Linked DNA regions of Homo sapiens: region 2 is linked to region 1. The links are contacts of gene promoters, found by promoter capture Hi-C in human tissues and cell types (Jung and others, 2019). All regions are on one chromosome and are shown on one strand. The core of a region is centred on a gene start or on the middle of the fragment in contact, and the rest is flanking DNA. Distances in the headings are between cores, read along the strand shown.

Region 1 (7,344 bases), core at 1,303-3,802:
AAAAATATGGTCTAATTTTTGTGATATGTTTCCTTTTTTCTTTTTCTTTTGTTGAGAAGGGTCTTGTTCTGTTGTCCAGGCTGGAGTGCCATGGTGCAATCATAGCTCAGTGCAGCCTTGACCTCCCAGGATCAAGTGATCCTCCGACCTTAGCCTCCCAAGCACCTGGGTCTACAGGCACATGACACCACACCCGGCTAATCTTTGTATTTTTTTCATAGAGATGGTGTTTTGCCATGTTTCCAAGGCTGGTCTGAAACTCCTGGGCTCAAGCAATCTGCCCACCTCAGCCTTGCAAAGTATTGGGGTTACAGGCGTGAGCCACCACATTTGGCCTTGTGATATGTTTCTTAAAACACTGGCAGATATTTCATTCATCTAGCTATGTTCCTGTGAGATCTAGAGGGTCAGAGATGATTGATCATCTTTTATGGTTAATGATGCTGAAATGCAGAGAATTTAAATAGCTTTGGTCATGCTTAGTCATGGGGAGGATCTGGTCTAGCCCTGGGTTTGGTTCATTGCCTTTGAGGGAGCAAAGAGGAGAGGAGCCTGTGTGGCCACACTCTAGGCCTGGGCTAACTTCACAGTCCATGGGCAGAACTTGCAGAAAATTAGGGATATAAGTCAGAGATGCTGGAGAGGGGATCCCAGCAATGAACGGGGCAGATTGTGTGACCTCAAATGTCCAGTCAACTTCAACTTGATTCTGTAATTGATTGATTCTTGATTGATTAGTTCTTGATTCTGTGATTCTACATTTTTTTCCCCTGAGGAGGTGACACTCATTTTGCATGTAAATTTTTCTAAATCTGAACACCAAATTTGAGAAGTCTGGATTCCTCACATTGAAATAATCTCAATTAGCTTGTGCTACCTCATGCAATGGGAGTTGAACTAGCTTTCAACCAGTTTTATCTGGTTGTAATCCAGTATAAGGGCTTAACCATTAGTCATTAATAATTAATTGATGGACTAATTCATTTTTTCAACAAACCAAACTTTATGGCACTTACTATTGGCAAAGCACTGTGCTTTGGTTCAAGGCACCCAGTATATTAACAAGACTGGAAACTCCTGGAGAGCTTATGGTTTTATCCTGGGGAGGAGCTAGGATGTTGCACAGCCTGGCAGGTAACACATGGGAGAGATAAGGATAAAATGGAAGAACCAGGCCACTGAAGAAAATTGTACTTCCTTTGCACTTGGGCCACTCCCAGCCCTACCCAGTGGGTGTTGAAGAAGTCTCTATCCTTTCCCCCAATTCTAAGGAGGCTCCTGCCAGGGCCATACAGACCACACCCTTAGAAGGGCCCAATGTGCAGCAGACAGAACAAAAAAGGCCTGTCCTGGAGAGATAAGCAGCTAACTTGGCCAGCTCCAGAGTGTGCAGGATGGCTTTCTTTTGGACAAACCAAGCCCAGTCATAAGCCTCTGAACAACCCCAGACAGGGAGAGTTTCAGGCTTTCGGAGTCAGACATATTCCATAGTGCTGCCGGCTCTGCCAGATCTGGCTTTCTGGGGTTTGTGAGGGGGCATGGGCGACTCTCAGGAGCACATCTCTCAAACAGAAAATGGTCCCACAGGGGCCCTGTGTGTCTTGTCCATGACTGGGTCTCCAGAGTTTTGCAAAGGGCCTGGCACACATTTGGCAGTCTGTAAATATTTGCTGAATTTGTTGTTGACTTGACATTTGAATTTCTTGTTCCCTAGGCCTTAAGCTAAAACCAGAGAAAGGCCAAAATGTGGGGAGCAAGAAAGGAAGCCATAGATAAACCCCAAGATGTGTAATAGTGTATAATTTCTCTGGGAAGTTTTAAAGAGAAACAAACATTAGGCATGTTGGATTTTGCCAGTGTCTGCTCAACATACATAGGTGTTAACTTGACTTTTTCTCCAAAGATAGTCATAAACCAAAAGGTCACTACCTCCTGAACTAAAGCTTGGGGTACAGGGAGAACCCAGGAGGCAGATTTGTGATAGTTCTGGGCTTTTTTCCAAGAAGGGAGAAGGAGAGGTCAGCGCTTCATCCCAAAGGCCAGCGTAGAGCTGGGCACATACTGTGCACTCAGTCATTGTGGAGAGACCTGCATCACTCCTTCCATTAAGATACTTTCCCAGAGCTGTGAGTGGGCTCCACTGTCTCCACTACTCAGAGAAGCAGAACCTCCCCACACCTCCTCCACTCTATCCTCTCCAGAGCTGGGCACCGCTCTGCAGGGCCCAGGTGCAGCTAATAGGCAGAGGGATGGCTGCTGAGCACCTGATGCAGGTGAGCGTGCCTCCTGGGTCCTGTCAGACAGAGCTAGGAGGAGGCCATGCCCAAACATGGGGCAACACCAGGCACCACCCCCTCACCAGGTAAGCCTGCCACCTTAGCACTTTTACCATTTCAGCTTATTTTCAAGGTGTGTTTGGTAGCCTGGAACAAACTTATTGCCTTGGAGGCAAACCCAGCCCATGAATATTTGGGATTAATTATCTCTCCTTCGTTTGAGCCCAACAACCTCCTCAAATGTATATAAAGGGATTTATTTTGCACAGGTCTTCATTTCCCATCCCTCTTCCTCTGACTCTCAGTGTCCCTGCTTAACTTACACTCTTCTCTTCGCCAAGCTCCTTACCATGAGCAGACAAGCCAGCAAGACATCTGGTGGCGGGAGCCAGGGTTTCTCCGGCCGCTCTGCTGTGGTCTCCGGCAGCAGCAGGATGAGCTGTGTGGCCCACTCTGGGGGAGCTGGCGGAGGGGCCTATGGCTTCCGGAGCGGAGCAGGTGGCTTTGGCAGTCGCAGCCTCTACAACCTGGGCGGCAACAAGAGCATCTCCATCAGCGTGGCAGCTGGCGGCTCCCGGGCTGGAGGCTTTGGGGGAGGGCGGAGCAGCTGTGCCTTTGCAGGTGGCTATGGAGGTGGCTTTGGGAGCGGCTATGGAGGTGGCTTTGGTGGTGGCTTTGGTGGTGGCAGAGGAATGGGAGGTGGCTTTGGTGGAGCTGGTGGCTTTGGAGGGGCTGGTGGCTTTGGAGGGGCTGGTGGCTTTGGTGGTCCTGGTGGCTTTGGTGGGTCTGGTGGCTTTGGTGGGCCTGGCAGCTTGGGCAGTCCTGGTGGCTTTGGCCCTGGGGGCTTTCCTGGGGGAATTCAGGAAGTGACTATCAACCAGAGTCTCCTGCAGCCCCTCAATGTGGAGATCGACCCCCAGATTGGGCAAGTAAAGGCCCAGGAGCGGGAACAGATCAAGACCCTCAACAACAAGTTTGCCTCCTTCATTGACAAGGTAATGAAGCTTTGACTGGTCATCCCTTCCTGGGCTGGGGACTTTGAATTTGACCTTTGGGACACAGTGTTTAAATGTTTCTTGGATAGGCCAGACTGGAGGGTGAGGAGTTAGGTGGAACTCTAGGGTCTGGGAAGATATCCAGGGTTGAGGAGTTTGTCTACATGGTCAAGTGAGGGGAGGTGTAGAAAGAAAACAGTCCCCTATTTGGACCTGAGCACCACACATCCTGTTTGTGGGAACCCCTGCTGAAGTTTCCAGTCATTGCCTCATTGAGGCCCAGGCTGGCAGGGCAGGCAGCCCAAGGCAAGGGCCACAGCCACCATCAGCGAAGGGTCCACCAAGAATGGGAGGCTTTTCAAATACAAGCTGCCCTCTGAGGCTTTCCAGGAAGCCCTTTCCCCCTCATATTGCTGTGCCAGGCAGAGGAGGCTGATTACCTGGAGCAGGGATTAAGAGCATAAGAACCTTAGTTAGTCCCAAGGGAGCGCAGAGAAATGAGTGACTTTGCACTCCTACTCAGCCTAGTCAGGAAGACAAGAGTGCTCGGTGAGCTTCTCCAGACCAGGACAGTTCTCATGGGGCTGCCTCCCCTCCAGGCCCAAGAGAGGTGTTGTCATGCTAACTGTGGCATGCCAGCCAGTGTTGCTTCCCAGCTTCCCAGCATCACTTCACTGTTTTTGAAGAGCTAGCATGTCAGTAGAGTCGTGGGTGGAAATGGTGCTGCTGAGGTTTATGTGCATTTTTGTAGAGTGTACTGTGGTTTTGGAAGTTAAGATAGGGTCATGAAGTTCCCAGGAACAACAAGCAATAATTCTATTGCTTTCAGGTAGGAGCTACTTCCCCTTCCTTTGTAACTTTCCAAACCACGCTGCAAGTGTAGTGTCCTGACTCATCACCCATCTGATCATAATCTCTCTGACTACAGTAGGAGCCTATCTTTGCATCTTTTCTAGGCCTTTGTGCTGGGGGCCCAGGAGATAGACACCTAGTCCTACCTGAGTGAAGGCCCCTCTGCTCCTCTGCTACAAGTGTTGCCTGATGTTGCTTCCTGCAACCATTGCAGGTGCGGTTCCTGGAGCAACAGAACAAAGTCCTGGAGACCAAGTGGAACCTGCTCCAGCAGCAGGGCACAAGTTCCATCTCAGGCACAAACAACCTTGAGCCTCTTTTTGAGAATCACATCAACTACCTGCGGAGCTACCTGGACAACATCCTCGGGGAGAGAGGGCGCCTGGACTCTGAGCTGAAGAACATGGAGGACCTGGTGGAAGACTTCAAGAAGAAGTGAGTGACAGGGCAGGAGTGGGAAGATGCCATGGCCCACCCTGTCTCAGAGTCTTGGCCCCTTCTACATGCCCCCTGACTGCTGGGCAGTGGCGTCTCCTGGCCCATTTCCCTCTCCTTACCTTCATGAAGGACAGCTTGGTTCATTCAGTTCCCCCTCACCTTCCTTCTCCAAGCATGGTGCTTTGCAAATAAAATTGTGGCAAGAGGATGAGTTTAGGCTGGGCTTGGTGGCTCATGCCTGTAATCCCAGCACTTTGGGAGGCCGAGGTGGACAGATCATTTGAGGTCAGGAGTTCAAGACCAGCCTGGCCAACATGGCGAAATATCATCTCTACTAAAAATACAAAAATTAGCTGGGTGTGGTGGCACACACCTGTAATCCAAGATAGTCGGGTGGCTGAGGAAACAGAATTTCTTGAACCCTGGAAATGGAGGTTGCAGTGAGTCAAGATTGTACCACTGCACTCCAGCCTCGGTGACAGAGCGAGACTATGTCTAAAAAAAAAACAAAAACAAAAAACGGATGAGTTTAGAGTTGGGGAAGCATTTCCTCATGAGCCAGGTTGGGGAAGATCCTGGTTCTGGCATGTGAAAGATTCTGGGACAACTCATGGTATGGTGATCAACCATCCAGAGGTTTGCCTGGGACTGAGGGGTTTCCTGGGATGCAGAAATTTTAGTGCTAAAACCAGACAGTTTGCCTGGGCAAATTGACTTGGTTGGTCCCCCAACTAACAGGGAGATAGTAAAGAGGATGTGCTCATCTGAGAGGGGCAGGATAGGGATGGAGGGAGGGAAGAGATGAACTTTCAGAGTTCCAGGGAACAATGGTGTTTACGATGACCTCAAAACCAAACTCAGCTGTTTCTTTTTTATTCACACAGATATGAGGATGAAATCAATAAACGTACAGCTGCTGAGAATGAATTTGTGACTCTGAAGAAGGTAAGGGCTGTGTGTGAGGTTTCTGAGGCTTGCAGCTGCAGGTTTCTGGCTGGGTTGGGGGAATCTCCTCACTCCACTGCCACAGAGCTGCCAAGTTCAGGCCTTTGGAGCAATAAACAGAAGTCAGGTGCACCTTAGTCTGGAAGATCCCTAAAAGAGTTAGTTCATCAGTCTTTAGTTTTTTAGTAGGATTAAACTTAGACCATCCTAATGAGATACAAATTGCCCGTTCAAGTGGAGACTGGTCTTAGACAAGGACCATCACTGCACCAGTCCCCTCTGCTCTTTCTTGCTGCAGTTGTGGTTTGCTGTTTGTTCATTGGGAGAATAAGGCCTTTATCTTCCTCTTTTCTCAGGATGTGGACAGTGCCTATATGAACAAGGTGGAGCTTCAGGCCAAAGTGGATGCCTTGATAGATGAGATCGACTTCTTAAGGACCCTCTACGACGCTGTAAGGATGTTACCTACTAAGAAGGGACAGAGGGAGAGTGAGGTGTTTCCAGATTTGAGGCTGGTGCATTTTGGTATATAGGCCCCAGAAGACATCTGGAATGAGCCTGGAGATGAGGACCCTTGGAAGGGATTCCACAGGATAAGCTGCAGACATGGGGTTCTCTGAGTGGCTGCGGACAGGGTGTGGCTGATACACATGTGGAGCAAGGAATCAGTGAATGAGACTGTTGATCAAGAGTCTTTCAGGGCCCTGTGTGCTTGTTACAGGGACCCCAAAAGTGAACAAGCTCCCTCTGTGTTGACAGGAGCTATCTCAGATGCAGAGCCACATCAGTGACACATCTGTGGTGCTGTCCATGGACAATAATCGCTCCCTGGACCTGGACAGCATCATTGCTGAAGTTCGTGCACAGTATGAGGATATCGCTCAGAGAAGCAAGGCCGAAGCTGAGGCCCTGTACCAGACCAAGGTGGGTGCTAGTCACCTCTTACGGGATCCACTGGAGGTTTCAGAGAGGCCATGGCCTATTGGACAGCTGGGTAGTGAGTTCCCAGTGGTCACTGGGTGAATGCCTTTTGGTTTTACCCTCTGAAGTCATCCTTCTAATGGTGGTTCAGTTGCAGAAAGTCTTGCCCCTGGGGGAGATGGTTGCCTGCTATGTGGGACTGACTCCAACTTGCTCAGGAACTACAGGGTAGGAAAATCTTCTACCACAACAACCCAGATGTTCTCTTTCCTGCTGCCTTGGGGGTTTCCCTGCTGAAACACAATGCAGTATCATTTTAGCAAATGCCTTACTGAGCTTCTGAAGGTTTGGTGGGTGATGTTGGAGGTGTAGAAACAAGTCAAGCAAAGCTGCAGGAATACCCCATCTTCCCTTCTGTTCTGCAGTTGGGGGAGCTGCAGACCACGGCTGGCAGGCATGGGGATGACCTAAGAAATACCAAGAGCGAGATCATAGAGCTCAACAGAATGATCCAGAGGCTGCGGGCAGAGATCGAGGGTGTCAAGAAGCAGGTGGGATGGTCATGGATGCTGGCACCTGGGATGATTGCTGAGGGGCAGGGGCTAGGATCTCAGGACTCCTCCCCTGGAATAGACGTCTGGAGGTCATCTCAGGCTGGCTGACCCACAGGGCAGTATCTCCACAAATGGAGACAAGATGGAGGCACTAGGGGAGGAGGAATGTTCCCTGACTTTAAGATGGGATAATCCATTGCATGTCAGGAAGGGCCTGGGGCCCTCTTACTGAGCTCATTCCTCCTACCTCCCTTGCCCCAGAATGCCAACCTGCAGACGGCCATTGCCGAGGCCGAGCAGCATGGAGAGATGGCCCTCAAGGATGCCAATGCCAAGCTCCAAGAGCTGCAGGCTGCTCTACAG
Region 2 (7,344 bases), core at 1,543-4,042, 440 kb after region 1:
GCAGTGCCCTGGGGCCTGTTGTAGGGTGGGTGAGATTGCAGGGAGCTGCTCACCCCTCCATGTCTCCTCTCTCCACAGGTGTCAGCAGCTCCCGTGGTGGAGTCTCCTGTGGGGGCCTCTCCTACAGCACCACCCCAGGGCGCCAGATCACTTCTGGCCCCTCAGCCATAGGCGGCAGCATCACGGTGGTGGCCCCTGACTCCTGTGCCCCCTGCCAGCCTCGTTCCTCCAGCTTCAGCTGCGGGAGTAGCCGGTCGGTCCGCTTTGCCTAGTAGAGTCATGGAGCCAGGGCTTCCTGCCAAGCACCTGCCTGCCTGCATCACTGCACTGAATGGCATGTGAATGGAAAATGTGTGCTTGCTTCCAGAATCTTCTGGATGTTCCTACAGAGGGAAAGACCTACAGAGGGAAAGACCCTCGGGCCGCTCCCCTGCGCCTTTTCATGCTAGGGAGATGCATCCTAGTTGTCCTCCTGGCAGCTGTTTTCAGAGGCATTCCCAGCCCTTCACTTAACTCCTACTTAGCTCCAAAATACCTGTATCCAATTTGTATTATTCCCCCAGCTCTCAGGGACAAGACCAGTCCCCCAGCGTGGTGGTCAGCACGGAAGCTCCACCTTCTGGGTGGAGGCGCCATCCTAACCATCCAGCCAGGCCACCCACAACCCGAGAATCAGGGAGAAAGTCCCTCCCCAGCAGCCCCCTCCTCCTGGCTGGGAAGAATGGTCCCCCAGCAAGCACTTGCCTGTTCATTCCTGTTCATGTTTTGCTTCTCTCTCAGACTGCCTTCCTGCTTCTGGGCTAACCTGTTCCAGCCAGGCTCCTCATGTGACCTCGCAGTTGAGAAGCCCATTATCGTGGGGCATCCTTTTGCCTACAGCCCCTGGTTAGGGCACTTTGGACAGGTCTTGCTATTCAGTGAACCTTTGTACATTTCAAAGAAGACTCCATGGCTGCTCCAGATGCCCCCTTGCTGGGTGCAGGTGGGGACTGTCCAATGCAGAGCTGGCGGGACAGAGAGTTAAGCCACTTCCTGGGTCTCCTTCTTGTGACTGTCTATGGGTGCATTGCCTTCTGGGTTGTCTCGATCTGTGTTTCAATAAATGCCGCTGCAATGCAAGAGCGTGTGGTCTTGTGAGCAACTTCTCCACTCCCTTCTTGCCTCATCTCCAGATGACCAATCCCAGTCCAGCCCCATGCAGTGTTTCCCCAGTCACCCCCCAGAAACTCTGCTGCTTCCTGTCCACTTCCACAGTCTGATTCCACTCAGTCGCCCTCAGTCCCCTCAGGCCTGGACTACAGCCCAGCTCCCCACTAATGACCTCTTTCTCCCTGACCCACCCTGCGTACTCCCAGCAGCCAAAACTCCATCCCAAACTCACTGCTCTCACCCTCTCCTGCCTGGCTCAAGTCACTTCCTGGCACATGTGTGTGCTTCTTATGCCAAATGCAGGCTTCCTCTGTCACCTCCTTCCCCAGCTACTCCTCAGCCCTGTCCAACCCCTCCATGCGGTGCTCATCCTCCCAGTCATGGACTCCACCCCAAGGAGACAAGTCTACCCTCTGAGGCAGCCCAGAGACACTCTCTCCTACATACCCCTTGTGGACACATAGGCCATCCCACATCCCTCCTCCCATTTGCCTTTGCTCAGGGCCCTCCTCTGCTCCCCAAAGCTACCACCCTCACCCCTACACCCCCCAGCCCTCCCCCGCCCCCATCATATAGTGTCTGGAACCCTGAGAATCTCTGGTTTTGTCTCTGCGGATCTGGGCCAGGGATGTCAACGGGTGTGTCTGGATCAAGCTGGAAATTCCATAAGGACAGGAAGTATCTCCTCCTGGCTCTGACCTCCCACTGAGTCCCAGGATGGGGCTCCAAGATATGCCAGGCCTGGGATGTGCTGGATGAATGCAGGCAGCTGGTGCAGCAGGAGGTAGAGACATCCAGTCCTCTTGCCCTCAGCTCCATCTCCCCATTAGCTGTCACCGTCATCAAGCAGGTGTCTGCCAGCCCCCTGCTGCCCCATCCTGCAGCCTCTTTCTCTGAGAGGAGAAGATAGGGCCTTGTGCATCCTCACTTTAGGCCCAAAGGGCTGTAGCCCCACTGGAGGCTGCTGGCTGCTTCTGAGTGCTTAGGCTGCTGCTCTGTTTGAGGTTTGCTGGCTGACACCTGGCGGGCCTCCTCCAGGTCTCTTGCCTGCTGCCTCCTTTTTCCCAGCTGTTTGGGCCCTGAGGGCATGGTGACAATCACAATAGGCCAACTTTCAATTTAGGGGACATCATTCACCCACAGGAAACGTTAAATCCCAGGGGCTGAAACATCAGGAAATGGAAATTTGAGCCCCAATTCTGCCAAGACTGCCAGGTCTCGGTGAGTCCTTGGGCAGGAAGTGGCTTTCATGCTTTGCATGTCAGTCTGGGGTCTATGAGATGAGTGGGTAGAGTCCTTACCAGGTCTGCTGCCTCCTATGGTTCTGAGATGCTACAGAGAGTCTATGCTTGGGGAAAACAGCTTCATGTTACCATGGATCTGGGCTGAGCAAAACAAAAATGCCAAATCTGATACCCAAAAAATAACGGCACCATGGATTGAAAAGTCAAACAGCCAGAACCTGGGAGATAGGAATGAATTTTTTAATACATTTCCGTGCTTTGTGTGCAAATACCATTCAACAGATTCAGCTGGCCAGAGGTGCCTTTTGCTTATGGGGAGGTAAGCCTCTGCCCCAGCCCTCCTTGCAGCCAACAGCAAAAACCCACCACAGCAAGCTCTTCTGGCTCAAAGGATGCTGGGGCTCCTGCAGCTCTCTCCTGATCAAAGAACTATTCCCCTCGGAATGCAAAGGGTACAGTCCAAGGGTAACTAAGGATTAACATTTTATTAGAAAGAAAAAATTCTGAAGAAGTCAAGTGACCTGAAATTGAGAGATCGAGGAAAAGCCAGAAGTTCAAGAGGCCCAAACAATAAAGTGGGCCATGGGAGTGATCCCAGATCTCTGCCCTGGGCTCCTTCCTGCTTAGAAACATCACAAACCAAGCTAACACCAGCATCAGAGAAAATCAGACCTGCTGTCTGTATTCAATTCTTATGTAAATGTTAGTGATATCCTTCCCCACAAACACACAAAGCTTCCAGAGGATTAGAAGTATGGATAATAACCTGTTCAAAGAAACAGGTACGCTTGGGATTTGTCATCTTTTCCTTTCTCCTGAAACCACTAACACTCCACCACCAATTCTCAACCCACTCTGCTTCAACCCATCCTCACAAACACCTATGCCCAAGAGAGTTCCTTCCCCCAGCCCGTGTCTCTAACTGTTCCCTGCTTCAATCTTTGGGATCTCAGAAAATAGAATTTTGTGTTACTACTCACATTAGCCAAGCATAGTGAGGAACACAAATTAACCATATTATCAAGAAAATTACCAAGTATGTTCTGTGTAGACACGGACATGACCATGTGGGACTTAATGTCCCCTTGTCTGGGTTATTCACACTCCTGTCTCTCTCTGGGAACATGAGCATTAGGAAGTGACTGTACTAAGTGTTTTGCTCATTGAGGATCAGAGCAACAACGACATGGGCACTAAGCGCCACACTCCTTGGGTGTAGGGACATGCCAGGCAGAACAAGCAATGGGAGAGGCTTATTTCACAGAGCCTCAGGCCACCTTCCTGCCTCCCCCAACCCCCAACCCCCAACCTGTGCATGCCTGGAAATCCCTGCTCATTTCCGCTTTGTTCAAAAACCGAGGGCTCCCCCATGTTGGCAGGGGAGCAGCCAGGGAGTGGGGTGAGGCGGGGACAGCATGATAAGCTTACGCATTAAAAATGAAGAAAATACCCAAGGCATTCATAGACAAATAGCCACCCTCCACCACCATCAAAAGGAAACACAGACCCTTCCCCAGTCCACAGTCCCATGCCCCAGGGCAGCCAATGCCCCCTGAGACACCGTTTCCTCCTCAGAGTCACTCTGGTGACCCTTTTAACCTGGCTTTACTGCTGCTCAAACTTGGTGGGATCCGGACTGTGATGGGCAGGCCCCTGCAAGACCCTTTGGTCCGGGAGACAGAGACAAGGGAAGCACCACCCTACTAAGATAGACCTCTGTCCGCCCAGGTCAAGTCACTGCCTGGCCATTGTGGTCACTGAAACAGAGTCTGAAGACATCAGAAGAACTGCGTGGCCGAGGAGAACCATTCAAAGGCTCTTCTCTGTTATGTCGCCCGTGCAGTGCTGGCCCTCTGGATGCGAGAGACTCGGGATGGGAAGGCGAGTCACCGTCCAGGCCAGCAGGACTTCCTCAGCCTCGGTGGTCCGCAGGCCACCTGGGTGGGGACAGTTTACAGTGTAACAAGGGGCCTGCAGGTCCTCCCTGCAGGTCCCCACTTTGGCCCCGTCTCCCGTTGAGGCCACCGTTGTCCCCCATCTCCCCACCCACGAGAGTCAGGGGCCACACCCCTCCTACCCCCACCCTCGCTTTGCTCACGGGTCGCCCCGTGCCCTGCCCTGCCTGCCTGCCCACCGTCACGTCCAGCCACCGGGTATCCTGGGCCCATCTCCAGATGCACGGCGCGGGCCCTGCTGGAGCCCGCGGGATCAGATCCACAGGGGCCTTGGGTCCTTGGCTCACGCAAGGTTCGCGCCTCGGCGCCTCTGGACTGGTTCCTGAGTCTTCTGCCGTCCGCCGGGATCCCGCCGCCTGCGCCTCTCTCAAACGCGCCCGCCCTCCACGCCTGGGCCCCGGCTGCCCTCCTTCACCCCTGCCCGAGACGCCCCGCGTCCCGCCCTTAGCCTCTAACCCCAGTGGTGAGGGGCCTAGGGGCTGGGCGCCGGGAGGGACGGGAGGGCGAGCTGGGCGCCACCTGCCCGCCGTTTTGGGGTAGTGGGCAGGGTGTTTGGGGGTTATTGGCTGCTCAGGGCTGCCCCGTGACATGCCCATAGCACCGTGGCCGGGGTCGGCGCCCTCCTCTCCGAAGTCTAGGTGCCTAGTGCGTCCTGGCACAGAGGTTTTATAAAGACCCTCGGGGGTCGCCCGTCTGCAGTGAATGGGATGTGGGGAGCGAACCCGCAGGTAGTCAAAAGGCCAGGCCCTGCTCCCCCAGACTCCACCCCTAGGCCGGGGTGCCAAGCCATTGCCTTGGCAGGTCCGGAGCTGGTACCAGAAGGTTTGGCAATGTGCGTGAGCACCATGGAAAAGAAAAGAAAAAAAAAACCTTTTAAAGACTTTTCTATGTCATGAGATCAGATATGCATTCTTGTGGCAAAATGTTTCCTACCCAGTCAGGCTTAAAAAAAAAAAAGTTCCAAATAAAATAAGGTGGGAGAAATAGTTCTTCCTGTACAACAAGTGAAAGAAAGTTGACCTTCAGAAACCCCTGTCTCCATTCATCACATACAGGTGAGACAGCCCTAGGTAGGACTTCTAGGGAACTGTCAGTTCAAGAGTAGGCCAGACATACAGTTCACCAATCAATTGCCTCTGACCAGGTTATCAGGGCAAATGCCTTCCAACCACGTGTCTGAGCTTTGATCTTGGGTTCCCATATAAAAGGCTTGTATTAACCGCCCCGTGGTACGATCTGTCCGAGATTCTTGGAGAACAGAACCTACGGGGAGATGTTTCTACAAATGCTTCTAGGAGGTCCCATGTGTCACCTTCCATCTCATCTCCAAAGTGTCAGACAGCTGGTGAAGGAGCATCAGGCAGAACTCCTCCGGAAGCATCTGATGAGCCGGAATGTTTAGCCTGAGGAGCAATTAGGGAAATGCTGTGGAAACATTTATGAACAGCAGCATTCCCTAGACATGAGTTTGAATTCTGGACTAGCTGGGTAACTTAGTAAAGCTACTTCTTTGAGCCTTAATTTATTTATACGTAAAATGAGGATAATATTCTGGTTGCTGTGAGAAATTAATGAAATACATATATAATGTGCCAGACACCTAGCAGGTGTTTAACAAATACAGGCTCCCTTCCTCACCCCTTTTGTACCTTTGCCCCCACCTTGCCCTGGTGTGTGTGTGGCCCAGACCATGGCTCTGACCTTTTAGCCGCAGACAAAGGAGAAATGCAAAGGGGCTAGACCGATCCAGTGAGAATCAGAGGGACAGTCACTTCCATGGCCAGAATTATCCGACCCTCCTCTTCCCTCTACCCACATCAACCTGTGGTTCTCAAGCTTTAGTTCTTCTAGGAATCACCTGGAAGCTTCTTAAAATACAGATTCCTGGGCTCATCCCTAGAACTTTTGATTGAGAGTTCCAGATGGAGCCCAGGATCTGCACATTTAGCAACTACCCCACAGGGATTCTGATGCAGGTGGTGGTCGGTGGACCACATTGTGAGATGCACCAAGACAGTCAGGGCTTTGGGTGGGTTGGGAAGACAATGAAGGAGGCAGGCATTAACTTGGTTACTAAGAAAAAGCCTTTCGCCATTGATATTTAATCAAGCACACCAAAAGAAAGAAGGAACCATACAGGAATCATGCAAATACAATGAACTTCCAGGCAACAAACAGTATAAACCCAGCTGATTAGCCTCCGTCAGTCTTTCAATCTGGACATATGAATAGTTGGGGGACTCTGGGAATATACAATCTCTCAGAGCAAGTGAGGAGCCCAGCTCCACACCCACACCACCCTTCCATGCTGAGGCAGCATCTGGAGCCCCTGTCATCCGAGGGCAAAGCGCAGAGATGTTCCCACATACTCCACACCCTCTAGCTGGCTCCGTTCCAAGAGGATCTGGCACACAGTCAGGACTTAATTTAACATCTGCTGGCCTGAAGTTAATTGGGGAAGACAATGACCGAGAAATTCATTCAAAAAAAAGCCTTTCTATTTCATTCCTGAACCACAGGGAAGGGGAGAAGCAATGGAAGTGAAAATAATGTCAAACCCAGGGTTTACACAGAGAAAGTAAATTGTTAACTCCAATAAGAAGGAAACAGGAGAGTTAGTTCTGGGTTCTCTGTAAGGGGAAATTACTAAACTGACATTTGGTCATGCAAGAGAAAAGATTTCCACTCCCCAACCCACACTGCCCCCATCAGAACAGGTCCGTCCAGAGTCCCACCCCCTCTATGCAAACCGCACAGATTGGGCACTGGAGCAGGCCCCCACTGCAGAGGGGCAACACAGTGCACCACTGCTGATGGCCACACCCCCTGAGCCACAGGAGGCAGTGGAGTCCAGGTCCCCGCAGACCACACCACCCTGGGAATGGCTCACACATGTGGACAGAGACACAGGTCAGAATTCTCTTCCATCTCAGACATGTTATGACCCAGAATCCTTTAGAACCAATGATTAATTATCTTCCTTCTCTGAGGGACCA

Evidence for each region. Contacts are between HindIII fragments. The study calls those that stand out against the background at their distance.
Region 2: a fragment that was not itself captured here is called in contact with the fragment with the promoter of KRT3 in region 1 in 2 of the 25 tissues and cell types used here (mesenchymal stem cells and thymus).

The regions. Positions count from the first base shown.
Region 1 is chr12:52,791,325-52,798,668 of GRCh38, reverse strand. KRT3 (keratin 3) reads left to right here and starts at 2,552. Exons shown (of 9, transcript NM_057088.3): 1 at 2,552-3,271; 2 at 4,338-4,558; 3 at 5,446-5,506; 4 at 5,863-5,958; 5 at 6,266-6,430; 6 at 6,853-6,978; 7 at 7,243-7,344. The coding sequence starts at 2,627. RefSeq lists an enhancer at 6,764-7,344. The HindIII fragment of the contact is 6,438 bases long and covers 1-5,479 here.
Region 2 is chr12:52,353,781-52,361,124 of GRCh38, reverse strand. It overlaps KRT85 (keratin 85), which reads left to right. Exons shown (of 9, transcript NM_002283.4): 9 at 79-1,119. The coding sequence ends at 272. Among named protein-coding and RNA genes, the nearest start is that of KRT85, 10 kb to the left of the region's middle. The HindIII fragment of the contact is 6,815 bases long and covers 1-6,199 here.